7 separate regions of the Homo sapiens genome follow, and regions 1, 2, 4, 5, 6 and 7 are each linked to region 3. The links are contacts of gene promoters, found by promoter capture Hi-C in blood cells and fetal thymus (Javierre and others, 2016). All regions are on one chromosome and are shown on one strand. Each heading gives the region's core, a stretch centred on a gene start or on the middle of the fragment in contact. The rest is flanking DNA. Distances are from core to core; before and after follow the strand shown.

Region 1 (3,818 bases), core at 1,318-3,817, 420 kb after region 3:
TGCCAAGTCTTTACTAATCCCTTAAGGCCTAGAATCATTTAAAATTAAGCCATTAAAAATCAAAGCAGCATCAGAGAGGTGGCTCGTGGTTAGGAGGAAGCCAGGCCTGCGTCCAGGGCCAAGCACCATGGTTGGAGCTGGAGGCAAGGAGCCCTCAAGTCCCTGGTGTCACAGTCAGCAACTCTCAACCTCGTTATGAATACTTCAGGGGAGAGGCGCCATTGGTTGGGGGCTGAAAGTACATCCAGGCAGTGCGCAGCTCAGGCTTTGCAGGATGCTGGCCGTGTGGAAGTCTGTGCCTTTACTCAGGAGTTCCCAATTACAGTCATTTAAAGGAGAGGCCCCTTTCCCTGCAGTTAGTTCCTGCCAGGGTTAGCAGTGGCTGCTCATCTCTGCCCCTCAGCAGGCCTCGTGTTCTTGGGAGTCACATTCTGTACAGCTGGGCCTGTGGCCCCCAGTAGCGTGCTGCTGAGCCTGTCAGTGGGAGGACCCCTGACCCCCTCCCACCTTGGCCACCAGCAAATTGCTGCTCGTTTGCATCCGTAGCAACAGAGACCAGATTCAGAGGATGGACTGACCCCATCAGCATCGGGAAGCCACGACCAGTGTGCCACTCATTTCTTTGTACTTTTAGTTTTCATATCCCTGAGGGCAGAGCCCAGCCCAGCGTTGCCTCCTACACAGCAGGATGTCCCTCGCACCCCTCGCCCTGGGTACCACACCACACACCCATGCTAGGAAGGCCGGCCACACGGGAGCCACGCTCAGCCATGTCAGTTTTAGGCATTCTTCATCTTGACCTTTGGGAAAAAGCATTTCCACACATCTGACCTCTCTCTGCTCTTCATTCCAGCTCTAAGTAATAGCTTACTGTTAAATCCCACATATTTGCTTGGAGCTTTTGCCATATCAAGTGTCAGCTGAAGGCCAGGATTCCAGTGAAGCCGGCAGAATGTCTCCCTCCTGCTGTCTTTAGGGACAGCCTGTGTCAGGGTGGCCAAGGCCCCAGACCCCTGAATGGGCCCTGTGGCAGCTCCCACTGTCCACACCTCAGGTTCCTTGGCTGAGCCCTCCCGAGCCTCCTGACACCGAGCCCTGTGGGTTGCTTTACGTTGGACTCACGCAGGGCAGTCGGTGGATGCCGGCACAGATGGGATGGTGAGCCTTCGGCCGCCGTGGTCCACGATGCGTGTGCTCCGCACAGTGTGCACTCTCAGCCTAGCCTTCAGCCTCTGCCCAGCAGACAAAACACAGTCTCCTTGGTCTCTCCTGGCCAAACACATTGCCCCCCTTTCATTGGAGTATGGCTTGAGCAGCTCCAGGACATTGGGAGGTGGAGATCCAAGTGCCGGGGCAGGCTTCAGGCAGGCCACCCTCCCAGTGTGGCCCCAGCGTGGCTCTGGCTGTGCTTTGCTTGTGCTATGCTGGTTTGGGACAGCTTGGCTGTTTCTGGAGCATTTATCTGAACAGGACAGCAGGCATGGTAACAACAGCAGGACCAGTGCGTGCCTATCATCTTAGGTTCCCACTCTTCCCGCTGCTGCAGAGCAGAGTGCCAGTGCCTGGGAGCACAGAACTGCCAGCCCAGCCCCTGCTGGTGCTGCAGGGTCACCCCTGCCCTTTGTCAGCTCCCAGGATCCCCTGACAAAGATGGCACATGGGGGATCGAGAAAGATACGGGCTTACCGTCAGCCAGACCTCAAGTGTTAACTCTGTTATTCTTCTCATACCACTGTGGAAATGTTTCAGGAAACCATTGTCACTTGATATTAAAGTGTAGATTAAAAAATAATAAAATTATCCCAAAAGGCAACTCCCCAAAGGAGCAAAGTTATGGTTTGGTATGTAAGTTTCCTGACTTCTTGCCATGAAAATACACGTATCACTGTCAGAAATTAGATAAGCCTTCATATGCAATGCTGTCACCTCCATTTCCACTCTGCATACCCTACATGGCCCTCCAGGCCTGTCCATGGAGACCACGGCACAGGCGGCAGTGGGGCATTCTGTGTCCTTGTCAGCCTGCCAGCCCCACACCCTGGAACTTCAGGAGTGCAGGTTTTTCGTATCATAAACAGTGCTGCTGCGAAATCCTTACCTGTACCTCCTTTCTGACTTGTCTGATTATCATTATTTTATATATATATTTTTTGAGATAGAGTCTTGCTCTGTCGCCCAGGCTGGAGTGCAGTGGCGTGATCTCAGCTCACTGCAACCTCCGCCTCATGGGTTCAAACGATTCTCCTGCCTGAGCCTCCCAAGTAACTGGGATTACAGGTGCTTGCCACAATGCCCAGCTAATTTTTGTATTTTAGTAGAGACAGGGTTTCACCATGTTGGCCAGGCTGGTCTCGAACTCCTGACCTCAGGTGATCTGCTTGCCTTGGCCTCCCAAAGTTCTGGGATTACAGGCGTGAGCCACCACCCCAGGCCTGTCTGGTTATTTTAGGATTCATTCTTAACAGGAAACTGCCGGGGCTACAGGCTTTTTTTCCTGCCCTGTCTCTGTCTGTCTGTCTCTTTCTATCTCTGTCTGTCTACCTCTGTCTCTCTCTGTGTCTCTGTGTCTTCCTGTCTGTCTCTCCCGCTCTAGAATGGAGAACAGCTTTGTCTACAAGCCCAAATCACCAGGACCTGGGGCTGTATGAGAACGTCTCTGGCCCCCACATTCCCCTCCCTATTCTGTGCTCTGGGGCAGCACGCCTGCCCCCACCAGCCCTCCACACAGCATAGACATGTCATGAGGGCCATGCCTTGTAGGACCTGAGTTTGCAGACTTCTCTGTTACTAACTATGGCAGAATGGGACAGAAACCAGGGGACTGTGGGTCCACTGGCCCAAGCCAGGAGTGAGGGCTTTCCCTGCAGGGAGCACACTGGGGTCTTCCGCATCCCATGAGTGGGATCAAGAGGTGTAACTCCCCACCAGTGGTCCAGCAGGGGCAGTCACCTGCCCCAGGAAGCGCCTGTGCATGTCAGCATTCCCAAGACCAGTGGGTCCTTCTAGGTCCTTGGCTTCCTTGGCCATTCCACAGCATGCAGCTCAATGGACAATGACATTCCCTCTGAAGCACCATCTCCCCTGGGCTATGGGTCTCCTTCTGTTTATTGGGCTGCCCCATCTTGGCCTCCTTCAGGGCCCTCTTCTGGGTGGTGTCCCGCAGATGGGGCCAGGGCATGCTCCCTCCTCACTGTCTCCCAGGCCACTGCACCGTCTACCCTGTTGGCTTCAGGACAACGATCACGAGCCTTTGTTGAGGGCCTATTCTGTGTACTTAGAGTGACTGCTTTATAGCCTGTGGGTTGTCTGACTTCATACTCCAGCTGTCTAGACCATGCAAGCTGCCACAACCCCATCTTCTCATGTCTTGGGGACTCTGTCCTCCACTGCTTGATTTCTATAGTCTTGGGAGCTATTGATTCAGGTTTCATCTGGTTTTTCAGTTTTTTCAGGCAGGAGGGTAAACCTGGCCCCTGTTACCATCATGGTCAGAGCAGAAGTTCATGACCCTCAATGGACACGAGGAGCAATCAGAGGCTCACAGACGCCATCTTGGCTACGGTCACAAACACAGGTCACACACCTGGGAGCTAAGGGCTTTGCCACAAGACTGCATTGCCTCATAGATCAGCTATACATACATGACCCCAGATCTGCTGCCCAGGCCAGTCCCTTCTGAGCTCCTGATTGGCATTACCAGCACCCTCATCATCCACACTGAGACATCTCCAGGCACACCAAACACTGCGTGTCCAGCACTGAGCCCATGGCCTCTGTGGTCTCTTGTTCCTGTCTCTCCAGCAGCATTTCCATCTGGC
Region 2 (3,989 bases), core at 835-3,334, 500 kb after region 3:
TCAGCCCAGATCAGCCCTAAATTGTGTCCTCTAAAACCTCTTCTCCTCCCACGGTGTTGTCCCCCAAATCAGTCTATGAGCCTCTCCCCGAGTACATGCCAACTGTCCATTGGCTATTCTTTCCTGCCTCACACGGGACGACCACCAGGGAAGTGCCTAGACCGTCTACCTCCATATTCCATGGATTCCGTGAGCATGACGATTGTTAGTACTGGGAATTCCACAGCGATTGGTAATAACTGATGCTTAAGGCATTAGCAGAATTCTGTCCTGGAAGGCGGACGTTTTGGAGAGGGTTTTCTAGCCATGACATCAGCGTTTTTCCAAGTTAATTAAGTGTTTAGTTTATTTAATCCTGGAGAATTGAGACAGGAAAATTATCCATCACATTTACGCACCCCACCCTTTCCAAAGCAGACAGCTAAGGTTGGGCCTGACTGCATATACTCTCAGCAGCTGGGCAGTGAGGCAGCAGGGCCTCAGCGTCTCCAGCTCCACCATACCCCACGTCCAGGCCCACAGGGCCCAAGGTGCCCTGGGAGCAAGAATCTGCCCACCGAGTCCCTCTCTACTCAGGGGCCAGAAGGGCTCTCCCCGACGGGCCCAAGAGCCCTCAGCTGGACTCAGTTCATTCAGCAAACAAGTGTTGAATGCCTGTTGTGTTCTCAGCACCGTGCTAGGCGCTGGTGGGGATACTGCAGTGAACAAAACAAACACGACCCCTGTACTTCCAAAGCTTTGATTCTAGAGGGGAGCCTAGACGGGGATGAACAGCCACCAGGCCCCTTCATGGTGAAGAGGAAACAGAAGTGGGCAGAGAAAGGCTAATTCCTTTTCCTTTGGACAACGCAAGGCCACCCAGGTCTCCTGCCTGCCAGGAGGGGAGGAGCGGCCAGCAGCCCCAGAGCCTGCAGAGTGGGCTCCGCCGGGACACCTGGGGCAGGCCTGGCTTCTGTCCCCGCATCCTGGCCTGCTGTCCTTGTGACCTAGGGATCCCAGCCTTAGCACTGATGACATTTGAGGCCAGATAACCCTGCCATGGGGGGTTCCCTTGCATTGGAGTATGTTTACCAACATCCCTGGGATCTGCCCACCAGATGCCAGCAGCACCCCTGAGTTGTGACAGCCCAGATGTCTTCAGACATTGCCACCTGTCCCCTGGAGGCAAGGTCACCCTCTCATCAAGAACTCTTGCTGTGGGTTCAGGCCTCCTGGGGAGCCAGTTCCCACCCCAGGTACTGCAGTTCTTTCCTTCCTGGCCTGCGGAGGGGCTGACGGGCCCAGCTGCAGGGTCTCCCATCCCCAGGCCTTATGCCCTGCCTACATCGTGGCCTGAACAAGCCTCCTCACTCCCTGCCCCCAGGCACCCCACTCAGATCCCAGGGTTCTGCCCCCGACCCCTCACGGTTTCTTCTTTTCCTTTCTAGTTTCTACCCAAGCAGTTCCCGATGTGTGTTCCTGGGAACACTCTCCCTCAAGTTGTGCCGCCAACAAGAGTTCTCTGAGAACTAGACTCGGGAAACACCACACTTTGAGCTGCCAGCACATGAAGGGCTGCAACGAAATCCATGTCTAACTGATTGCTCTAGGCTGTTTCCTATTGCTCACAACCTCCAGGGCCTGGCACGGTGCACAAGACCTTCAGGAAGTTATTGGAGGGAGAGTGAGGCAGAGGGGAGATAGGCCGGGAGGCTGCAAGCCCAGTAGCGGAGTCAGGTATCTGGATCCCCGTGCTGCATGGCTCAGAGCTGGGCCGCCTCTTCCTCCTGAAATCACCCAGAACTCCCCATGGACTGTCAGTACAGAGCCTGAAAGCAGGAACAGCTGACCTCCAGGATGAGTCCAGCCTTGGAGGAAACACATTGAGAAAAGTGGGGAGCGAAGGCCGAGACTCAGGCAGTGGAGTTGGAGGCTGGGATCCACACTTGCCCAGGGCACACCTTCATTATATCTCTTTCCCTCTCTATTGCATAAGCAGCAGTGCCTGGGGCACAGGCTCTGAATGCAGTGGGATTAATGAATACAGTGGAACAAATGCTGGTCACCAAGGGTGATGGGGATGGTCCCTTTAGACACCTTATCGGGTGGAGACCCTTCACCGGGCACTAAGCAGTATCCCACAGCCACAGGCCCCCAGACCCTGGTACAGCTGCAACAACAATCCAGGCATGTGGCCTGGGGGGACTTGGCTGGGGCCGGAGCAGTTGTGCTCTTAGACAACCAGACCCCAGCGTGGCTTGGGCCTCACGGAAAGTCCCATCAGGAACCGTGTCACCTGTCCTACAAAGTCCACTTAGAAGAGCTGGGGGAGGAGAAAGCAGATGACATTGACTGCTGGTTCCTCTACACAGACAATGACGTTGCCAGGCTTGGCCAGGGTCCCGTGACAGAGAGGGCTGTGTTGTCGGGGATGGCCCGTCAGCAGCATCCTTCTCTGAGAATGGCATCACTGGCCTGCCCTGGGGGCCTCGGGGCCTATTTTGGACATTTCTGCTAGATTTTGGAAGAGAAAGGAAAACAAGTGTCGGACAAGGTTTTTTTTGGCGGGGGGTGGGCGGGGGGGACGGAGTCTCGCTCTGTCACCCAGGCTGGAGTGCAGTGGCGCAATCTCAGCTCACTGCAACCTCCACCTCCTGGGTTCAAGCTATTCTCCCACCTCAGGCTCCTGAGTATCTGGGATTACAGGCAAGTGCCACCACACTCAGCTAATTTTTGTATTTTTAGTAGAGACAGGGTTTCACCATGTTGGCCAGGCTGGTCTCGAACTCCTGACCTCAAGTGATCTGCCCACCTTGGCCTCCCAAATTGCTGAGATTACAGGCATGAGCCACCGTGCCCAGCCTGGATGAGCTCTTGGTCTTAGCTTTGTTTTCCTCCTCTGAGCCACTTTACAAGGTTATCTTTAAAGTTTCCTGATGGAACCATTCTCCATGGGTCTCTCACCCTTCTACCCATCTTACAACTGAGATGCCATCTGCTGGCCTATCTTTTCAAGATGTCCATGTAGGCACCAGCCTTGGAAAATAGAAATAATGTCAGTCTTCAAAGCAAAGAGCAGGCATGCTTACTGCTTGACTCCGGAGCAGAGGGCCAGCATCCTCACAGTCCAGTAGAGAGGATTTGGTGTCCCGAAGCTCCAGGTCCTCTGCTTTAACACAGCCTGGTGTGCCTGCAAGCGTCACCTGGCCCTCACTGGTTCACCCGTGGGAACTGGGGTTCAGGGAACTGGTGCAAGAAAATGCTGGTACTCTGGCTACTGCTGTTGCTGTGAGTGGTAAAGTCTTTTGTCTGAAAAAATAAGAAATTTAAAAATAAAGTTCCACATAGGAAGATGCATTCCCCTCTCTCTGACAGCAAGGGCATTGGGAAGCATTCACCTGTTTGGTTTCCATCTTGTGTGTCTCCCCAGAAAGAGAAGAAGAGTGGGCTCCTGAAGCTTCTAGCCGGAGCATCCACCAAGAAGAAGTCACGCTCCCCGCCATCTGTGTCTCCAACCCACGACCCCCAGGTGGCCGTGGACGCCCTGCTCCAAGGTGCAGTGGGCCCCGAAGTGTCCTCACTGTCCATCCACGGCAGGGCAGGGTCCTGCCCCATAGAGAGCGAGATGCAGGGTGCCATGGGGATGGAGCCTCTGCACAGGAAGGCAGGCTCCTTGGATCTAAACTTCACATCTCCTTCCCGGCAAGCTCCGCTGTCCATGGCTGCCATCCGCCCCGAGCCCAAGCTGTTGCCCAGAGAGAGGTAAGTGCAGGGGCTTGTCTGCTCTGTGGCATGCTGTGGTTTGGCCTCTGAGGTCTGGAGCCACCTTCGGGGAGCAGGGACACTGTGGCCTTGCTGGGATTAGGTTTACCAGATGTACCTCAACACCCAGATCCACATGGTCCCGAGCTTGGGTGGTGAGTGCTGGATGAAACGAGTCTGGGAACTGGAGTGTTATTTCATGTTCTGCATCCATCTGATTCCTGAGTTTGGGATTGCAAAGGAGCCAT
Region 3 (3,895 bases), core at 585-3,084:
CACTCCGGAGCAATGTTGGGCTGCCGCCCAATGGCAGGCACTGGGCTAGGCAAGAGGGTACCATGATGCCTGAGAAACAAAGATGAGCCCCTGACATGTCTGTGCTTCACAAATGTGTATGCCCAACAAAATGAAAGTCCAGCTCACAAAAGCAAGAAACCAGGTAGTGGCCAGGGAGTGAAAATCAAGCATTTCAGGGAAAGTGTATTTACTTTTTCCTCCCAAAGACTGGTCCTTCCAAGATTATCCTCCAACTGTGCTGTCACAAATTAATCCTCCCACAGCACAGCCTGGCCCACTTAGGGATGGGGAGGGGTACAGTGGAGACCCCCGGCCAATCGCCACCAGGATCGCCAAACTTTCCCAGCCGTGAAGGGTACACGTGGACTGTCATCGGAACGAACGCTTATTTCCAAGCCTTGACCAGAGTCACTCTCTTTTTGGTGGCCTCTGTCAAAATGTATCTTTAAAGGTTTTAAGTGGCTATGACTTACAAATCTCAGAGTATTAAGCCAGGCAAGAAACATTCTCTATTTTAGATGCCTGGATCCCTTTTTTCCTTCAGTCTATTATGGCTCTTCACTTCTTTGTTACACTTTCACTCTTGCTTAGAAAGTGTCTCAAAAATGCCACTTGAGAGCCACAGAGCAGTGGCCTGGGGACTGGGGAAGAGGACGGTGGTGCTCCTGTCTCTCCGTACGTCTCCTCACATGCGTGTACCCCTGGCTGTGTGGGATTGCCCACTGACCGGCATCTGCCCTGCTTGTTGATTTTAACTGTCCCTCTTGTTGCTGACCCAGCACAACATGGGCAGGGAAACCCAGTGGGAACCTCGCCTGCTGACCTCCCTGCCCAGCCACCCGCTTCTCCCTGAGCTGACATCTCAAAGCTTGGCTGCTGCAGGAGGCTGGGAATCAGAGCCGACTGAATCAGAGCCGACTCCTGTCTAGGAGCCCAACCCACCCCACGGTCTGTCAGAGTGTTGAGAGGAACCTCTTGGCTGGAAATGAAAACCTCAATCATCACAAATAGGTACCCACTCCCCTCCTTCTCTCCCTCTCCCCGCTCCCCCGCCACCAACACAGAGGCCAGGATATGGGGGGTCTCAGACACGACTGGAAACCCCACTTGGAAGGTCTCTTAGGTCACAGCGGGTACGCAGAGTTGGAGGCAGGTACAGAGCCCAGCTAGAGTCCCTGCCGCGCCTGCCTTCCCCAGTGAGCCGGGCACAGGGGCAAACCTGAGAAACATACTTTTCACGCTCCCTGGAGGAACCCGTTGCTTCAGTAGCCCAAATCTTAAAGCCTGTGAAGCACACACAGAATTTGTCTCCCTAACCAAATGTGCAACCAACAGCAAAACAGGGTTTCTGATGTTTTTCTAAAACAAAGGAACAATCTCAGGTCTTAGAACTGGTAGCGCAGACATACTGCAATCGGTAAAGCTTGTTCAAACGCAACCCAAAAATGACATGCATTTCAAAAATGCACCCAGCCTCTCTCCCAGCCCATGACACCTCCGTCTCGGCCACAGCTGAAGAGTTTAGAAAACCAGAGGAAAGGACCAGGGCTTACCTGGCTTCTGTTGGAGGTCAGCTTCAGTCCCAGCAGAAGATGGGTCTATGAAGAAAGTCAGGTACCATCCAGTTCTGGGTGACAGGCTTCACAGGTGGCCACCGTGGCAGCCCTCTCAGAAGCAGGTACTCTATGTCCTTAGGGGCCAGCAGGGCTGCCTGGGACCTGGCACACCTCTCTGACACTAGCCCCGCTTCCTTTCCGTTTAAAGGGCTTCCCGGGAACTCTTCCTTGACCGCTCCCTGCCCTGTCTGCAAGTTTGGAAACTCAGTCCTTGCCGAGGGGCTTTCCCTCATTGCAAACTCACCTGCACCATCTAGAGGTCTCTCCCAGCACTGGAGAGGCTGGAGCGGGCACGTTCAGCCCTGCTGCCATAGGTCCCTGGCACACCTGGCTCTCCGGCCGTCTGCCCCTTAAGAGATCTGTTGGAATGCGTAAAAATCATGGATTTTTTTTTTTGCAGGGGTGGGGGCCTTGCTTCTATCAGAGCCTTTAGGCGTGGGAGTGCTAAAAAGCTAAACTAGCATTAAAATATCATTAATCAAAGCTTGTTCGTAGAAGGACCCCCCACTGAGATGGCTACAGGCATGGGTGCCACTGCACGGATTCAGCTTCCAACATGTCTGTTCACATTCTCACCCATCCCCCGCACATCCCTCAGGGTTTGAGCCACCAGGACTGCTCTTCCTTTCCTCTCTCTGGACACCTCACACCACCAGTGTATACCCATGTAACTTCAGATAACCATACACACCCCCCGTATAACTAGGTAATTAGGAAGCCATTTGAAACATCAACATTTTGAAAGGACATACCTTTCAGTATTGGGCAATTATTTCTCAAAAAGTAAATGATTGGGGGGGGGAAAACAGCCTTAAAATAATGTCATTCTCTTGTCATTTTCTCCCTCATTCACACCTACACAGATAAATACAGGAACAGAGCAGCTCCTCCAGGCTAGATTTCTGTGTTCTCCTTTTCCATCTTGTCCCCTCTGCCTTGGAAACCTACAAGGTAACTCACACATGAGAAAGTAAGAGCTTAAGAAAGAAACAGTCTGGGCTCCGTGGCTCACACCTGTAACCCCAGCACTTTGGAGGCTGAGGCGGGCAGATCACTTGAGGTCAGGAGTTTGGGATCAGCCTGGCCAACATGGTGAAACTCCGTCCCTACTAAAAATACAAAAATTAGGCCGGGCGCGGTGGCTCACGCCTGTAATCCCAGCACTTTGGGAGGCCGAGGCGGGTGGATCATGAGGTCAGGAGATCGAGACCATCCTGGCTAACAAGGTGAAACCCCGTCTCTACTAAAAATACAAAAAATTAGCCGGGCGTGGTGGCGGGCGCCTGTAGTCCCAGCTACTCGGGAGGCTGAGGCAGGAGAATGGCGTGAACCCGGGAAGCGGAGCTTGCAGTGAGCCGAGATTGCGCCACTGCAGTCCGCAGTCCGGCCTGGGTGACAGAGCGAGACTCCGTCTCAAAAAAAAAAAAAAAAAAAAATATACAAAAATTAGCCGGTGGTGGCATGTGTGGAGGCTAAAGCAGGAGAATTGTTCGAACCCAGGAGATGGAAGTTGCAGTGAGCCGAGATTGTGCCACTGCACTCCAGCCTGGGCAACAGAGCGAGAATCTGTCTCAAAACAGAAAAGAAAAGAAAAGAAAAAAGCAGACAGAAATGTATGGGGCTGGGGCAAGGACCTAGACTGTAAAGGACTAATTCTGCCTCCACAGAGATTAAGCTGAACCAGAGTTACTTAGCTGACTTGATCCTTGTGGATGATTAATCTAGATAATATAAGCTCCCAAACAAGAATTTTAACTTGAATTTTCAGGTTTGGTTGTCTACCCTGCTCATGCCGAGTTCAGACTGAGGGTCTGTGATAAATTAAAGTCACTGAAATTATTAAATTAGGAACCTGGGAAAATGAATGGGAGGTATTCTGGGCTAATCTGTTCTACTCCATATAATTTTTACTTTCTGGTGTGCTCACAGTGTGTTTGAGGTTTGGGATTATTTTAGGTGTAACTAAAACATTTTTTCTATTGGAAATTAAGTGGTGATTTAAAATTTACCAAAAGGAATGATACTGATATTTCCCAAAGAGAGAGAAAAAAGACACAAGAAAAAATTAAAATGGCACAAAATATGGATGCTGTAATAGAAGCCAAGGGAGTTTTTTCCTCTCTTTGAAAAAAATCCAAACATCATGGCATTAAGCAAGGTTATGGATGGTTATACTTGAAGTCTGCCTAGTCATCATATCCAAATGAAAATGAGTATATAATTAATTCAGTTGATTAAGAGAAAGAATGAAATGAGAA
Region 4 (4,079 bases), core at 671-3,170, 350 kb after region 3:
TTAGGAGTAACTCATCTGTATTAACTCATTCGATCTCACATTTAGGATCCCTGTGAGACAGATACTTAGCACGCTTGTTTTGCAGGTACGGAAACTGAGGCATGGAGCAGGCAGGGTGTGGCAGAATTGAGCTCTTCTGCAAGAAGCTTCATGGCCACCCTCAAAACTCCTTGAGCGCTGGGGACCCAGTTCTAACACAGGCCTCCTTCCTTTTGTCATTTGAGCCAGATTCTTAGGGAAACTTTTTTTTTTTTTACATGCTCACAGATACTTTATTTTTTCTTACCTTTTTGTATTACACTTGACCCTTGAACAATGCAGGAGTTAGGGCAACAACCCCCGGCACAGTCAAAAACCTGTGTGTAACTTTTTATTTTTATTTTTTGAGACAGAACCTCACTCTGTTGCCCAGACTGGAATGCAGTGGTACGATCTTGGCTCACTGCAACCTCTGCCTCCCGAGTTCAGGCAGTTCTCCTGCCTCAGCCTCACAAGTAGCTGTGACTACAGGCATGCGCCACCACGCCCGACTAATTTGTGTATTTTTAGTAGAGATGGAGTTTCACCATGTTGGCCAGGCTGGTCTCGAACTCTTGACCTCAGGTGATCCACCCGCCTCGGCCTCCCAAAGTGTGTGAGCCATTGCGCCAAGTCTTGCATGTAACTTTTGACTCCCTCAAACTCAACTCCTAAGAGCTTACTGTTGACCAGAAGCCTTACTGATAACACAAACAGTTGATCAACACATATCTTGGGAGAACTATACATTATATACTGTGTTCTTAGAATAAAGCGAGCTAGAGAAAAGAAATTGTTATTTAAAAAATTGTAAGGAAGAGAAAATGTATTTACTACTCATTAAGTGGAAGTGGATCATCATAAAGGTCTACATCTTCATCATCTTCACGTTGTGTGGGCTGAACAGGAGGAGGGGTTGGCTTTGCTGTCTCAGGCAGAGAAGAGGTAGAGGAGGTGGACGGGTAGGCAGAGAAGGGAGGCACACTCGGTATAACTTTTATTGAAAAAAATCCACGTATAAGTAGACCCTTGCAGTTTAAACCCATGTTGGTTCAAGGGTCAGCTGTTTTTTGGGGGGGTGGGGGGTAACATGAAAGTAATGACATGAAAAATGTATATATAGTAAGATGATGTGGTGGTTGGTTTGGGTTGAAATAAGGACCTACAAGGAATCCTCTGCCTTTAGTCCCCTCCTTCTCTTCCCTCCTGTCCTCTTGGTCTTCTGCGGTGGCTGGAGATCCAGGTCCCCAGTGCAAGGCCCCATTGACCTGAGGCCACCCACAAAGGAGGCCCACGTGAGTGTGCTGCCCAAAAGGCCGGTGGAAAGGTGGTAGATGGGGCCGACCAGGCATCAGCTGGATTCAGGCCCTGGAGGGTGCCTGGGTGGGGCTGCAGGGGTTGCCGGTAGCGAGGCCTTTGTTCCCTGGGAGGGATCAAGGAGCACTTTTCAAGGTGCCTGGTGGCTGCTGGGGACTTGCTCAAGTACTCCTCTAAGTACCCATTATCAGAACATGCCTGGGAACACTGCAAATACCAGCTCACAGCATGGGATCTCTTCCCAGAAAGTGAGGAAGTGAGCAATGCATCTCTGAATTGGATAAATGTAAACAGATCTGGACCCTCCTGGCCCAACGGATGACTGACCCACAGCTGCCCTTTCCCTTCCATAATTAAACAGATAATTATCAGGGCTCCACAGAGGCTTCCCTCGCCTTTTGGGGGAGTGAGGAGGAGGCAGGTGGTTGGAAGCTGGTTGCCCAGTTACACGCTTTGTGATGCTGAGGAATTTGCCCACCTTGCTACATTTTTCTCACTTATAAAAGGACTATAATTCTTATTTCACAGGAGTCCTGTGAGCAGTAATCGGGTTATCGGGAGTGTCTGGTGGGGAGTAGCAGCTAAATAATGGCTGAGTTACTTTGAGGGGGTGATGTGTGTAGCTGGCAGTGCACAGGTTGGGAGGTCAGACCACCTGGATCCAGTCCTGTCTCTCGGACCTTGGACAAGTTACTGGACCTCACTGTGCTCCAATTTCCTATCGGTAAAGTGCAGATAATATAAGGCCAAGCTCACAGGGTTGCTGTAAGGATCCTGTGGGTCTCGCAGGTAGAGGTAGGAGCAGCAGGCACACAGGAGGTGCTCAGGACAGGAAGGGGCAAGGTCTGGATGAGAGCCCCAGTACTGCTGGAACCCAGAGAAGCACATACCTCAACCCTGAGGGTGAGAGAAGGTTTACACCCAAGGACCATGCATTGGTTCTTTGCTGAATTCACTTATTCAGTGAATATGGGCAGATGCTGGAGGGGCGGTCCTCAGTTCTCCCATCTGACTTTTGCTGCAGTGCATGAGGAGGGATCACCACTGACCACTTCCTACACTTAGAAGCATCTGCCTTTCCTGGCCCCGGCACCCAGGGTCCTGGAACATCTGTTTGCCTCAGCAAGTAGTCAATGATCATTGTTTTTATAGCTCCTTTTTCATTAAGAGACACAAAGCTCTTTTCGTATCATCAGTTTTATTCTCAGCATACTAAGAAGCACGGAAGGGCAGATTTGATTATCTCTGCTTTATGGGAAAACTAAGCCCAAGGTACTTTGTCAAAAGGTGCATTCTAAGGCCACCACAGATGACCTAACCGCTGCTTTGATGCAACAGGGAAACAGGCCACAACAAAGTCTGGGAAAAGTAAAAAAAGGAAGAAAAAAAAAATTTGCTTTTAAATCCTCTCCAATCTGGCTGCAACATGAAAATGCTACAGGCAGCTCTTAGCTGTAGACAATTTATGTCTTCACAGTTGCATCCACGCAACAGCTTAGTAGTGGCCTCGTCACCCTGTGTTTGAAGGGCAAGTCGTGTTTTCATCCTTTGTCTTATTTCATCAATTCTTCATCAATTCTTGGATGAATGAGTGTGCAAATATGGGAAAGGAAGAAACTGACAGAAGAAAAGAGGGGACAAAACAAAAAGTTTGGACCCAACAAGCAGCTTTGAATGAGAAAAAGGGACAAAGGAACTCGAAATATAATTATCTGTAAAACAAAAACCTGGGAACCTCTGGTTGCAGTGTGATAACAGTAACAAACTTCTTCATCGCGGATTAAATCTATAAAGTGGAAGATGGGATACACTCTGGTAAATGCATTATTTAAAATAAGGTAAGGCCAAGAGTTGTGCCTTTTCTAAATCTGAGAGTCTCTGAGTTGAAAGTGCTTTTCAAAGATGACAGCACATAAATGATAACCCTCAACAGTGCTATGAAAGTCAGTGCCTTGGCTTGAAAAATGCTTACGAGCTAAAGAAATTGTAAATACACCTGAGACTTCCTGAGTGAGTCAGAATATAAGCTGAGCTGTGAATGAGATCCCAAAATGTGTTGGCTCAGATAAGATCAAGTTTCCTTTTTCTTACTTCATGGTATGGGGGTGTGTTCTGCAAGGTCACCCCAAGACCCAGGTTTCTTCCCCCTTTGCTCTGGGCATAATATTTGATGGAAAAACTGGCCCACCCTACTGTGTCTACCATGCAGCCCGTGGGAAGGCAGATTTCCTTATGCATGTCATCATAAAACATGCTCCAGAATGTGCAGGAATCACTTTCACTTGCATTCTGTGGACAGAAATGTGGACACCTACCCAGGGCTGCCTGCAGGCAAGGCTGGAAAATGAAGGCTTCTGCTGGAAGCTTGATCTCAGTTGAAATTTGGAATATTCTGACAGACAAAAGAAGCAGAAAGTGGGTATCAGGGGTCATTAGCTGTCTCTGACCCATTCTCAGACCCCGCAGTGCTTGGTGTGTATACAATTAGGGTCTCACCCGCCGGGGCCTATGGACGAATGTGTTCATCTTCCTGACACTTTTCTGCTGGCCACATGCTGTGCTATACAGGTCTGGAGACTGCAGGTGGGCAGACTCTGTGTCCATCTATAACTCTGGGCCTTTGCATGGGCTGAGCCCCTGGCTGGAATGCCCCACTTCTCATCAGCCATACCTGGGATTTTCCCCATTCCGCCAGGCCCAGCTGCTATTAGCAATAGGATCTTGGGCAACATGGACTGTGAATC
Region 5 (4,157 bases), core at 1,058-3,557, 480 kb after region 3:
TGAGCACTGGTCTTGTGTACTTCTGATTAAGGACAAATCCACAAGCTCCAGAAACCCAACAAGCAAATAGTAATAAGTCTGGCAGAACGCTGAAAAGCTTAACCATTATGTTTTTGCTGAACAAAAGAACCCCCAGATCTCATGAAGAAAAGCCAGAAAACCGTGCTTTTCCTCAGAAGGTAGATCCGAATTTTTCCAGCCGTTGGTTATGTGTGCAGCTTGGGGCCAGGCGTTTGTCCACTGCAACCACAACCTCAGACATTCTTCTGTGGGGGTCTGAGCCTGGACAGCAGTGTTCTCAGAGCACTTTCCAGGACATGCGAGCTATAAGATGAACCCATGAGCAGATACGCTTGATCCTGCAAGCTGGAGTTACTTAGTGTTGATCATTTCACTCTTCGTGCGTCCTGTCTGAGGGTTAGCTGAGCCCGTTCTGGTGGTGGGCAACCACAGAGCTGTCTTCTGGCTAATGAAGACAAAGCCACCTTCTCAACTACAAGGATTCCTTGTCCCTTCTGGGGTGGCTGGGGTGGCCCTGTCTCCTCACCAAAGGCTCCTGGGACCTCACTACGTAAAGAGATGAGATTACTTTGGAATGACTTATTTCCTCATCAATAAGTGATGGGAGTTAGAAGGATGACCCACAGCACCCAGCAGCTCTAGCCACATGTGAAATCCATGCTTGCATTTCGGGTAGACTCCTGCTCCATCTGGAAAAGATCATCTTTTCCAGAGTTTTGCTGGATCTCAACAAGTCCCTGGAAGCGCCTTGTCAATCTTTGGTTCTCAGAATTTGCTCTTCCTTATTGCACGTCTGGGGAGACACCACCCACTTGAGTGTAGTTGCCCTCTGGTCATTCACTTATTTTTCATCTATTGACTTAACAAAATATTTGTGGAGCACCCACTTTGGGACAAGCCCTGGCTCAGTACTCTACGTGCAGAGCTGAACAAGGCAGTCTGGAGGAGGACAGGCAGTTACACCAAGCTCCCTGGACTGGCTCTGACAGTGCCACGCATGGGGTGCCTAGAAACTGCTGTGGCCGGGGCTGGTGGAGGATGGGTCATCACAGAAATAGCAGAGCCAGAGGTGCAGATGTGCAGGAAGTAGAGGCCTCGGCTCAGCCACCCCTGTTCCACAGGCCACAGCTTAGAGAGACCCTTTGCAGGGAAGTCAGCTCACAGCAAACAAAGGGTGCTGACATTTCATTCCTTCTTCCTCATGATAAGAAATCTCTTCTGTTGCCTGAGGCAGAGTCAGTGTATTAGTCAATTTTCACACTGCTGTAAAGAAATACCAGAGACTAGGCTGGGTGCGGTGGCTCACGCCTGTAATCCCAGCACTTTGAGAGGCCGAGGAGGGCAGATCACTTGAGGTCAGGAGTTCGAGACCAGCCCAGCCAACATGGTGAAACCCCATCTCCACTAAAAACACAAAAATTAGTTGGGTGTGTTGGCAGGTGCCTCTAATCCCAGCTACTTGGGAGGCTGAGAATCACTTGAACCCAGGGGGCAGAGTTTGCAATGAGCCGAGATCGTGCCATTGCACTCCAGCCTGGGCGACAGACTCTGTCTCAAAAAAAAAAAAAAAAAAAAAAAAAGAAATTAATACCTGAGACTGAGTAATGTATAAAGGAAAGAGGTTTGATTGACTCTCAGTTTCAGCTGGGGGTGCCACAGGAAACTTACAATCATGGCGGAAGGCAAAGGGGAAGCAAGCACCTTCTTCACAAGGCGGCAGGAGAGAGAAGAGAAAGTGAAGGGGGAAGAATCCTCATAAAACCATTGGATCTCATGAGAACTCACTCACTATCACAAGAACAGCATGGGAGAAACTGCCCCCGTGATCTAGTCCCCTCCCTCCAGGTCCCTCTTTGACACATGGGGATTACAATTCTAGATGAGATTTGAGTGGGGACACAGAGCCAAACCATATCAGTCAGTGGCAAAATTCATCATTGGAACAGCTCATGTAGGCCCAGACACTGTTGTATTCCATGGGTGAGGAGGTTGCTGTCCAAGCCACCTGCTCCAGGACACATGCTGGGGCGGGGTCTAAGTCTCTTTCTTTTCCACTCACCCCCTTGCTGTCTCAGCCTCACATACCTAATAAGACGGTCCCAAGAGCTTAGCCATAGGAGATAGACTAATGCACAGTCCTGGATAGCTTGTCCTGCCTTTTTGCATGGGGCACGTCTTGTTAAACTTTTTCCACACTCTATTTGCTGAGACTATGCAGACACAGGGAGAGCAGATGCCTGGCAGTTCTCTAGAAGGCAGGGGCTGTGTGAACAGCAGTTCATGTAACTTGGTCTGAAGCAGGCCATTTTCCTCCATGGTTATATTGCCAATTCAGGGAGAAGCAGAGTCCTGGGCCCCCTGCACTGTGTGGCCCTGTAGCACAGTGTGCACCTGGATTCTGACATCTCAGCTTCTTTCAAATTCCCATCCTTTTCTAATTATTAATTAGATTGTTAATTATTATTAATTAGTTAATATGATTAACAACCACCTGTGACCTCATGGTAGCAGCTCCTTATAGAAATGTAGGAGCAGTCCCCAGTTAAAAATTAGATAGGGATAAAAGCCCAAATCAGGGCACTTATTCAGGGAGGTGCCACCTGGCCAGGGTCTGGGCTGCTCCAGGAAGACGGTGGCAGGAGAGGACCCGGCCAGGGGCCTCCCGGGCCCTCCTCACCTGCACTCTCGGTGGTCTCGGGCCGGTGTGCATGCAGGGTGTCCTGGAAGCAATCTTCCTTAAGAAGCACAGAAAGAGGAAATCCAAACCATCCTGCAGAGCTTGCGGGGCTTCCCGACGGGGCTTCCCGTCAGGGCTTGGCAAGCTGGCAGCCATCAGGAAGGACTTGTGGAAAGAAGAGCTTTGATTTACGGTTGCTGCCTCAGAAACCCCGATCCAATTGATGAACCGACCTGCGGCTGCCTTCTGGTTGGATGAAGTGATTTCCATCCATCTGTTTCATTTAAAAACAAAATTCAGGAAGTGAGCTTGCCATACCTGACTAAATAATAGTGTGTTTAATTTTTCCTGTTTCATTCCAGACATCCTTCAGAAGGAGGCCAGATTTTACAGAGATTTCATCTGAATGCATTCCATTTGATCTAATAATTTATGGCTGTGTTGTATTTGTCCTACAGAAAGCCAGCCAGACGCCCGTTGGAAATCCAACACACAGCAAAGTTATCCTAATGGACAGGGTCGTGACACACTCAGACATATCCCAGGGCAGACAGCCCTGCTCCAGCCTCTTATTTCTGTCTGTCCTACCTTTGGCCTAATCTCCTTTGAAGCAATTTTAAATGAATGAATGTGGTGCTATAAATTCTACCCGACTCGTGGGGCCTTTCCTACCTTAGTGAAAAGATAATGTGTTGGCTGAGATGGCAAGGAGACAGGGTCACATGGTGTTGCAGCCTTTCAGATGCGAGTCCCAAGAATCTAAAGAGAACTGACAGCCTGGCATTTAATCGCCCCTCATTTAACAGCATTAACTCAAGTTAACTCTTGCAAAGCTCTGTGATGGATTTTCCCAGGGAAGCGGCTTCCTGCCTAGACATACGAGCGCCTCACACAGGCCTGGGCTGGCCCCATTCGACGCCTGGGCACCACTGGGAGCCTGGAGCTGGGGTTGGGCCCTGCAGAGCCAGAGCCTCTTGGCCATGGGCAGCTGTGCCTGGGCTTGTGGCTGGTTACCAAGCACAAGTTGACATCGTGTTCAGAATAGGGCGTGCTCTGAGGCCCCCATCAGCATTTGGCACCAAATTGGGACAAATACAATGAGGTCTGAGCCCCTATTTTATTTGGGGAGGCTGTGGGGGATGTAAAATAGCAGATATAGGTGATAAAGAAGGCCTGAGCAACAGAGCCATGCCAGGGTTAGAGCGACAGAGAGGAGAGAGAAATAAACCCTCTGTAACTGCTCATCTGGGATTCAAAGAAGATGGTTTCTGAATGGGACCTAAAGCACAAACAAGGTTCAAGGGGGAGGGATGAGGGAGCATATGTGTCCTAGGTGGAGGGAGGAAGCAGCGTGCCATGTCCTGCTGCCGTGCCCAGCTCACTCAGCCACCCACCCACCCCACCCACTCCTGCCTGCCTCAGGCTACCTCCTCCCCTGTAACACTGAGCCTGAGAGGCC
Region 6 (4,193 bases), core at 1,186-3,685, 370 kb after region 3:
ATTCTCCTGCCTCAGCCTCCCGAGTAGCTGGGACTACAGGCACCCACCACCATGCCCGGATAATTTTGTGTATTTTTAGTAGAGACGAGGTTTCACCGTGTTAGCCAGGATGGTCTCGATCTCCTGACCTCGTGATCCACCCACCTCGGCCTCCCAAAGTGCTGGGATTACAGGCGTGAGCCACCGCACCCGGCCAACAGAATATATTCTTACCTAGTGATGAAATGATGGATACTGGGGCTCCTGTGCCTCTGACAGTTACCAGCCCGCCCTTCCCGCATGTCTACTAACACTACAGATGAGTTGTGTTTGCTCTTGACCTTCACATCAAGGAATCACGCAGGATTTATTTTTGTGTCCAACTTTGTTTTCTCTCAGTTTTATATTTGTGAGCTATACCCATGTTGTTGTAGGGCACTGTAGTTTGCTCATTTTCATTGCTCTGTGGTGCTATTTTAGATTTTTAAAAAATAGGTGTTATATTTTTAGAGCCGTTGTAAGTTCACAGCAAAATTGAGCAGAAGATACAGAGATTTCCCATAAACCTCTGCCCCTACATGCAAAGCCTCCTGCATTGTCAACATCACTCACCAGAGTTAGTGCATTTGTTACAATCAATGAGCCTATATTGACAAATCGTTATTACTCTAAGCCTATAGTCACTCTTGGTGCAGAGTCTACTGATGGAGATGTCATGTATCTACCATTATAGGCCCATACAAAGTAGGTTCACTGCCCTGAAAATCCTCTGACCTGTCTATCCATCCCTCCCTCCTCCACCACCCCTGGCAACCACTGACCTTTGTACTGTCTTCATAGTTTTTCCTTTCCCAGAACGTCATACGGTTGAAATCATACAATATGTAGCCTTTTCGTAATGGTTGCCTTCACTTAGCAATTTGCATTTAAGGTCCTTCCATGTCTTTTCATAGCTTAATAGCTCATTTCCTTTTTTATCATTGAGTAATATGCCATTATCTGGATGTACCACAGTTTGTTTATCCATTCACCTACTAAACGACATCTTGGTTACTTCCATGTTTGGGTAATTATAAATAAAGCCACTCTAAACATCCATATGCAGGTTTTTGTGTGGACATAAGCTTTCAGCTCCTTTGGATAAATACTAAGGAGTGTGATTACTAGTTTGCATGGTAAAAGCATGCCTAGTTTTGTAAGAAATTTCCAAACTGTGTTCCAAAGTTGCTGGGCCATTTTGCATTTCTGCCAGCCGTGAATGAGCGTTCCTGTTGCTCCACATCCTCATCAACACACTACACACTACACTGTCTTCTTTGGTGAAGTGTCTTCTTTGGTGAAGGTCTTTGACTCACCATTCAATCAGACTGTTTTCTTGTTGTTGAGTTTTAAGAGTTTTTTGTGTATTTTGCATAATAATCCTTTATCATAGTTGTCTTTTGATAATATTTTCTCCCAGTCTGTAGCGTGTCTTCTCATTACCTTGACAGTATCTTTTGCAGAGTACAAATTACTAATTTTAATGAAGTCTAACTTATCAATTCTTTCTTTTGTGGATCATGCTTTTGGTGCTATATCCAAAAAGTCATTGCCAAACCCAAGATCATCTAGATTTTCTCCTACATTATCTTCTAGGAGTTTTGTAGTTTTATATTTTACATTTAGGTCTGTGATCTATATTGAGTTCATTTTTGTGAGGGGTGGAATGTTTATTTCTAGATTTTTTGCATGTGGATGTCTAGTTTTCCTACCACTGTTTATTTTAAAAACTATCTTTTCTCCATTGTATTGTCTTTGTTCCTTTGTCAAAGATCAGCTGACTGTATTTATGTGGGTTTATTTCTGGGTGCTCTCTTCCATTCCATTGATCTAGTTGTCTATTGCATTGCCAATGACAGACTGTCTTCATTATTGTAACTTTATTTTCAGTCTCGAAGTCATGTAGTGTTGGCCCTTGTTCTTCTCCTTCAATATTTGTTGGCTCTTCTAGGTCTCTTGCCTCTCCATATAAACTTTAGAATCAGTTGGTCAATATTCACAAAAGAACTTGCTGATACTTTGATTGAGATTGTGTTAAATCTATACAACAAGTTGAAAAGAACTGACATCTTGACAATATTGAGTCTTCCTATCCATGAACATGAAATATCTATTTGTTTAGTTCTCCTTTGATTTCTTTCATCTGAGATTTTTAATTTTCCCTATATACATCTTGCACATATTTTGTTACACTTATACTTAAGTATTTCATTTGTACCTAAGTATTTCATGATACCATTTACATTTATACCTAATGTAAATTGTATCATGTTTTAACTTAAATTTCATTTGTCCATTCCTGGTACAGGTTGAGCATCACTAATCTGGAAACTTGAAATCCAGAATGCTCCAAAATCCAAAATTTTTTGAGCACCAACATGATGCTGCAAGTGGAATATTCCACACCTGACCTTATGTAATGGGTTGTAGTCAAAATGAAGGCACACAACACACAGTTTCTTCAGCATCCTCAAGGGAAAAAAGACCCTCCCAGGCCCCTTCAGCTGTGATATTTATTTTCCACACATGCCCAGATTCCCCCATGCAAGCACAACCATAAAGGGTCATAAAATGGCACATGTGTAGGCTGCACATGCCAATGGCAGGTTCTCCACGTGAAAAGAGAGATTTCTATGACCATTGTTGATGAGGCAGATGACTGCAGAAAAATATTTTTAAAAGCCATCCAGCAGAATGTTTCCTCATCCACAGAGGACCCACTTACTGGTCCCTTAACCACTTCTGATGTTTCCTTGCACCAAAAAAAAAAAAAAAAAAGTATACACTTACCTTTTAATCAAAGCACAGCATCATAGGTAGAGACTGAAAGCCTGCCATTGTTTGTTGTTGCTGTTGTTTAACAGCTGATACAGGTATTCTGGAGAGGCTACTGTGCCGCTTAGTTACTCTGAACATGTAATTTTTTTCACTGTATTAATAATATGTCATATTTTTTACTGCTAAATACTTATGTGTGAATAATTGTAAGAAAATGATTGCTTATTGGTAGCATATAAATCCAGAGTCAGAAGTGAGGCTGATGCCAAACAACCACAGATGGTCCGCATGGGTGATACCCTTTGCTTTTTGTAGGCTCGATGTACACAAACTTTGTTTCATGCACAAAATTATTAAAATGTTGTATAAAATTACCTTCAGGTTGTGTGTATAAGGTATATATAAAACACAAATGAATTTTGTGTTTAGACTGGGGTCCCATACCCAAGATATCTCATTATGTATATGCAAATATTCCAAAATCTGAAAACATCTGAAGTCCAAAACACTTTTGGTCTCAAGCATTTCAAATAAAAGATACTCAGCCTGTATATAGGAAAGCAATTGACTTTTGTATATTAGCCTTGTATCCTGCAACCTTGCTATAATCAAGTATTAGTTCTAGAAGTTCTTCAGTTGGTTCTTTCAGATTTTCTAAATAGATGATCATGTCATCTGTAAACAAAGGCAGTTTTATTTCTTCCCTCCCAATCTGTACACTTTTAATTTCCTTTTCTTGTCTTATTGTATTATCAAATATTTTTAGTATGATGTTAAAAAGCAGGGGCAGAGAGTACATTCTTGCCTTGTCCTTGATCTTAGTGGGAAAGTTTAAAGTTTCCCACCATTAAGTTTCTCGTAATTAGGTGAACTGTAGGTTATTTGTAGATGTTCTTTATCAAGTTGAAGAAGTTCCCCTCTATTTGTAGTTTACTGAGAGTTTTTATCATGAATGGGTATTGGATTTTGTTAAAAGCTTTTTCTGTATTTACTGATATGAGCATGTGATTTTTCTTCTTTAGCCTGTGGATATGATAGGTTACATTTATTGATTTTTAGATGTTGAGCCAGCCTTGCATACCTGGGATAAATTCCACTTGGCTGTGGTATATAATTCTTTTTATACCTTGTTGGATTAAATTTTCTAATATTTTGTTGAGGATATTTGCGTTTATGTTCATGAGATATATAGGTCTGTAATTTTCTTGCAATGGCTTTGTCTGCTTTGGTATTAGGGTAACGTTAACCTCATAGAAGTTAGGAAATATTCTTTCTGCGAAGTATTGAGATTGTAGAGAATTGGTATAATTTCTTCATTTATATGTTTGGTAGAATTCACTAGTGAACCTATCTGGTCCTGGTTCTTTCTGTTTTGAAAGTTTATTAGTTGTTTATTC
Region 7 (3,915 bases), core at 1,308-3,807, 450 kb after region 3:
GGCTCCAGCAGTGCATGTGTGGCTGGTGGCAGCTTCATGGCAGCTGGAGAAACTTAAGGAAAACCGGTTTGGCCCCAGAATGTTGTGAGATGAAAAGAAATTATGGGGTGGGCCTTAAAGGCATAAAGAAGGTAAGCACATCTTGTCATGCTCGTGAACGTCTGATCTCCAGGAAGTTCACTTGCCTTATCATGTTACCCATCCTGGCAGCTGAAGTAAATTTACAAATATTTACACATTTCATTGTGGCAAGAGGGCCTCATAGACTAATAAGATTAACACCGGCACTTTCAAATGCCTCCCCCATGAATGATTGTGGGCCGGCCACGTGGGTCTTCCATCTGCCGGGCCCTGCAGGGCTTCCCAGCTAGGCGGCATCTCACAGGACAGGGCTGGGGTGAGACTCGGGCCCAGGCTCTTCCCTTTCTGAAGTGCTCTGAGGCAGGAGGAATGACAGCTGTTGATCCTTCGCCTTCATGGCAGCTGGAGAAACTTAAGGAAAACCGGTTTGGCCCCAGGATGTTGTGAGATGAAAAGAAATTATGGGGTGGGCCTTAAAGGCATAAAGAAGGTAAGCACATCTTGGTTGGTGGCTTAGTGTTGAGCTAATAAGAACTGCTGATGCTGGATTCGCAGGATGATCTGGGAGCCCATGCCACGGCGTCTTCCACCACGGTGGAGCCAGTGATGCTGACATGATGCCAAGTACCCCAGGACAAGAGGGGATAACACAGAATCTCTCTTCCCACCCCAACCCTGTCCTCTCAGAAATCATCTGTTTTTCTCAAAGTGAGGCTTAAAGGGCAAAAATAATGTAAATTCATGGAAGCAATAAAATATACTATTTCTTAGACTAACGAACACGATGACCCATTAGAAGTGTCCAGAAAGCAGCTTCTCAAGTGTGGAAAGAGGAGACAACACTTAGGTCAGCAGAGGCCATATTTCCTTCCTTATCTTAGCTGATGGGACAAGGGGTGGGAGGTAAGTGTCTGTCATCCACTTGCCCACCCAAGTGGGTGCAGGGTAGACTTCAGGTATCCAGTGCCCAGCATCGTCACTGGGTGCAGGTGGACTTTGAGTGCCTGGTGTCTGGCACCATCAGCAGGTATAGGGTGAACTTTGGGTGCCCAATGTCTGGCACCATCAGTGGGTGCAGGTGGACTTCAGGTGCCCAGTGTTCAGCCTTGTGCTGGTGGTGTACCTGTCAAGCAGTGGGTAATTTAGCACTAGGAAAGCTTCATGGGTGGTCTGAGGACTACCCTGGTGTCAGAGCCTTCAAGACCTACTCTGCCATCTCAGATTCTGTAAGTCTCTACTAGTATCTTTTTTACTTAAATCAGCTAAGAATGATTCTTGGTTTTCACACCCCTGGCTCCAGGGCCCTGGGAAAGAATCTGCAGCAATATTACCTGGTGCCCAAGCCCACCCTGCAACCCATGACCTTCTGATCAGCCGTCCTTCAGCATGGTTTACGTGGATCTGTGTTTTCTGGTAGCCTCTAGCTGGGGATACAGTCATTGCAGTTGGCAAGTGATCTGGTGATCTGAAGTTGTGCTCCCTGACTGGTCAGAGGCAGCCAATATGCTGATCTGTTTGGCCACTGGAGCACCCAGGCAGGACCAGGGGAGCAAAAGTCCCAGGCCAGGTCCCTTCTGGTTATAAACATCTCATCCAATCAGCCCGGTGTTCTGTACAAATGTTTCCACATGCACCAGCACTAGAAAGGGTGAGTGGCCCCACTCATCACGGTGAGTCAGCATCCCAGTGCAGTGGCCCTGGGTTGTCTGCCCAGAATAGCCAGTATAATGGTCTTTCCACACCAAGCCTTGCTAGAAACGTTCCCAATTCAAAGAAGAAATGGAGCCCTGCCAGTCACTTCTCCCTCTGTGGAATAACAAGCAGGATCAAAAGAAATTGGCAAGGCTGTGGGGCAGTGCAACATTGTGTCTCAGTCCTCCATCACCATAGTAACCATGAGGGTGCCACGAGCATTCTCTTCCATCAGTTTAATGTTACACACGGGGAGAGTGAGGCACGGGATGGTTAAACGGCTCCCCAGTGCATCCCAGCCCAGCACTTGTCCCCACGCTATTGCTGTCACAGCCAGGTTAAAGAATGACTCCTACTGAGCCATATCAGTAAATTAAATGCCACTGAGTTCCTGCGGCATTTTCCACTTCATTCTGCATTTAGAGAGAGAAAAAACACTGTTGACAGTCCAAGTAATGGATTGTTCCCTGCAGTAATTGCCCATTTCAGCAGACCCCAACCCCGATGGGTGGGAGGCATTTCATCAATGTTCTCATCTCGAGCCAAAGTCAGGCAGTTTGACAAAGGCTTAATTGCATTGGCCATAGCATCCAATATGATTTGTTCTACTTGATTAATGTAACTCCTTTCCCAAAGGCAGAGCACCCCCTGTAAAGTGCCAGTGTTCCTTGCACACTCCTGTCTGTGCTTAGCAGGAGTAAGAGCCCAGCATAGCCATGAATTCATCAGCAAAAAAGCACCGAGAAGGAGCTAGATACAGGCAAGGCACCCTGCAGGGGTCTGGAAACAGAGGAAAACCAGACAAGCCCCATTTCCACCCCGGTTAGAGAGAATGACTAGAAAACAAAGTTCTGTGGTGGGTTTGCTAAAGGGCTGCAAAAGAGGCCTGCTTAGGTATTAAGAGAGTGTGGAGGAGGGAATTCATTCCGACTGGGGAGGAAAATAGGAGGGGGATTGGGAGTAGGGCATATGGAAAGTTTTCAAGAGGAGGTGATAATGCCTTGAATCTTAAAGGACAAATAGGAAGTGTCTGAGCAGACAAAAGAGAAAGGAGGTTCAGAGCAGAGGAACCAGCATGAGCAATGGCCTGGCAATGAGGAATAGCATAACTCTTGTTTTGGGGAACTTTATTTAGTTGTGACATGACTGAAGCAAAGCTATGGAAGAAGGAGAAGTCCAGTGTGTAGATGACAGTTCCCTGCAGAGGCATACTGTCCTTTAAATCTGAAAGGTGGGTAGAGCTCAGCATGCAGCAGTAGGAGAGTGTGGGAAGCACTCAGGAAGGGGAAGCATGGGGAGCTCTTGGGCCGCCGAGGCCAGGGGCCCATGGACGCTGGAATACGGATAGGGTGCGGGAGCAAAGAAAGACCCGCAGTGAAGCCGAAAAGCTAAGCAGAGCAGAGCATGGAGGTTCTTCTAGACCACGTAAGGAATTTAGATGTTTATCCTAAGGGGGCACATCAAAGGGTGTTGAATAATAGACATAGTCATATTTTTGTATTTAAAAGATTGAGCTAGACTTCTGCTTATGGCCAATCTGAAGTGATGAGGACAGGAATTACTCTCCCACATGAAACAAATTTAAAAAGCCAAGTATATAAAACAACAGTTTTCAAGACACCAGACAACCAAGGACTGATTCATGAGAGAAGTTGCAGGCAGTGGCAAAAGGAGGCAGGTAACCAGGTGGAGGAGCCCCGAGGATGTGGAGATCAGAGTTTGTGTGACAGAGAGGGCTTGAGTTTCCAGGGCAGTGACCAGAGAGGAGAGAACAGCACAGAGAGGCTGCAGAGCACGCCCTGAGATCTTCAGGTGACAACTCATCTGCATATGAACATGAGAAACGTACCCAAAGCCAGGAAAAGAATCAAAGAAAGAAAGGATTAGTGCTAACAGTGCCCAGAATACACACCAGCTGGAAATAGTGCCTGTTCCCACCAGCCAGACGGAAAAATTGCAGAAATCACCAGGCATTGAGTAATCTACACAGGACCTTGCCTCTGTAGTGGTCAGACTGAGCACTGTTCCAATTTCACCCAACAGAGCTCAAAAACAACACTCAAGAGTCAAACTATTTCTGATTAATTTATCTTTGTCCCAGAACAAAGCTTAAGAATATTTATAGGAATACAAAAAAAAAAA

Evidence for each region. The method cuts DNA at HindIII sites, captures the fragments that hold promoters and counts their contacts. A CHiCAGO score of 5 or more calls a contact.
Region 1: a fragment that was not itself captured here is called in contact with the fragment with the promoter of EDAR in region 3 in 2 of 17 cell types (M0 macrophages and non-activated CD4 T cells); the score reaches 5.5 in M0 macrophages.
Region 2: a fragment that was not itself captured here is called in contact with the fragment with the promoter of EDAR in region 3 in 8 of 17 cell types (non-activated CD4 T cells, M1 macrophages, total CD4 T cells and 5 more); the score reaches 9.9 in non-activated CD4 T cells.
Region 4: a contact is called between a fragment that was not itself captured here and the fragment with the promoter of EDAR in region 3, in 4 of 17 cell types (non-activated CD4 T cells, naive CD8 T cells, total CD8 T cells and 1 more). The highest score is 9.3, in non-activated CD4 T cells.
Region 5: a fragment that was not itself captured here is called in contact with the fragment with the promoter of EDAR in region 3 in 5 of 17 cell types (total CD8 T cells, naive CD8 T cells, M2 macrophages and 2 more); the score reaches 7.3 in total CD8 T cells.
Region 6: a contact is called between a fragment that was not itself captured here and the fragment with the promoter of EDAR in region 3, in 1 of 17 cell types (non-activated CD4 T cells). The highest score is 6.4, in non-activated CD4 T cells.
Region 7: a fragment that was not itself captured here is called in contact with the fragment with the promoter of EDAR in region 3 in 5 of 17 cell types (total CD8 T cells, non-activated CD4 T cells, M1 macrophages and 2 more); the score reaches 6.8 in total CD8 T cells.

What each region holds. Positions count from the first base shown.
Region 1 is chr2:109,410,981-109,414,798 of GRCh38, forward strand. All of the region lies in intron 4 of SH3RF3 (SH3 domain containing ring finger 3), which reads left to right. It also overlaps a transcript of RANBP2 not described here. Among named protein-coding and RNA genes, the nearest start is that of MIR4266, 99 kb to the left of the region's middle. The HindIII fragment of the contact is 8,736 bases long and covers 1-3,818 here.
Region 2 is chr2:109,487,196-109,491,184 of GRCh38, forward strand. SH3RF3 (SH3 domain containing ring finger 3) reads left to right here. Exons shown (of 10, transcript NM_001099289.3): 9 at 3,410-3,741. It also overlaps a transcript of RANBP2 not described here. Among named protein-coding and RNA genes, the nearest start is that of SEPTIN10, 120 kb to the right of the region's middle. The HindIII fragment of the contact is 2,700 bases long and covers 735-3,434 here.
Region 3 is chr2:108,987,386-108,991,280 of GRCh38, forward strand. EDAR (ectodysplasin A receptor) reads right to left here and starts at 1,835. Exons shown (of 12, transcript NM_022336.4): 1 at 1,575-1,835. It also overlaps a transcript of RANBP2 not described here. RefSeq lists an enhancer at 308-809. The HindIII fragment of the contact is 677 bases long and covers 1,443-2,119 here.
Region 4 is chr2:109,338,191-109,342,269 of GRCh38, forward strand. All of the region lies in intron 1 of SH3RF3 (SH3 domain containing ring finger 3), which reads left to right. It also overlaps a transcript of RANBP2 not described here. Among named protein-coding and RNA genes, the nearest start is that of MIR4266, 27 kb to the left of the region's middle. The HindIII fragment of the contact is 3,553 bases long and covers 145-3,697 here.
Region 5 is chr2:109,469,631-109,473,787 of GRCh38, forward strand. The region is part of intron 8 of SH3RF3 (SH3 domain containing ring finger 3); the gene reads left to right. It also overlaps a transcript of RANBP2 not described here. Among named protein-coding and RNA genes, the nearest start is that of SEPTIN10, 140 kb to the right of the region's middle. RefSeq lists an enhancer at 1,116-1,235. The HindIII fragment of the contact is 4,424 bases long and covers 96-4,157 here.
Region 6 is chr2:109,357,286-109,361,478 of GRCh38, forward strand. All of the region lies in intron 2 of SH3RF3 (SH3 domain containing ring finger 3), which reads left to right. It also overlaps a transcript of RANBP2 not described here. Among named protein-coding and RNA genes, the nearest start is that of MIR4266, 46 kb to the left of the region's middle. The HindIII fragment of the contact is 2,669 bases long and covers 1,102-3,770 here.
Region 7 is chr2:109,437,229-109,441,143 of GRCh38, forward strand. All of the region lies in intron 7 of SH3RF3 (SH3 domain containing ring finger 3), which reads left to right. It also overlaps a transcript of RANBP2 not described here. Among named protein-coding and RNA genes, the nearest start is that of MIR4266, 130 kb to the left of the region's middle. The HindIII fragment of the contact is 2,643 bases long and covers 1,237-3,879 here.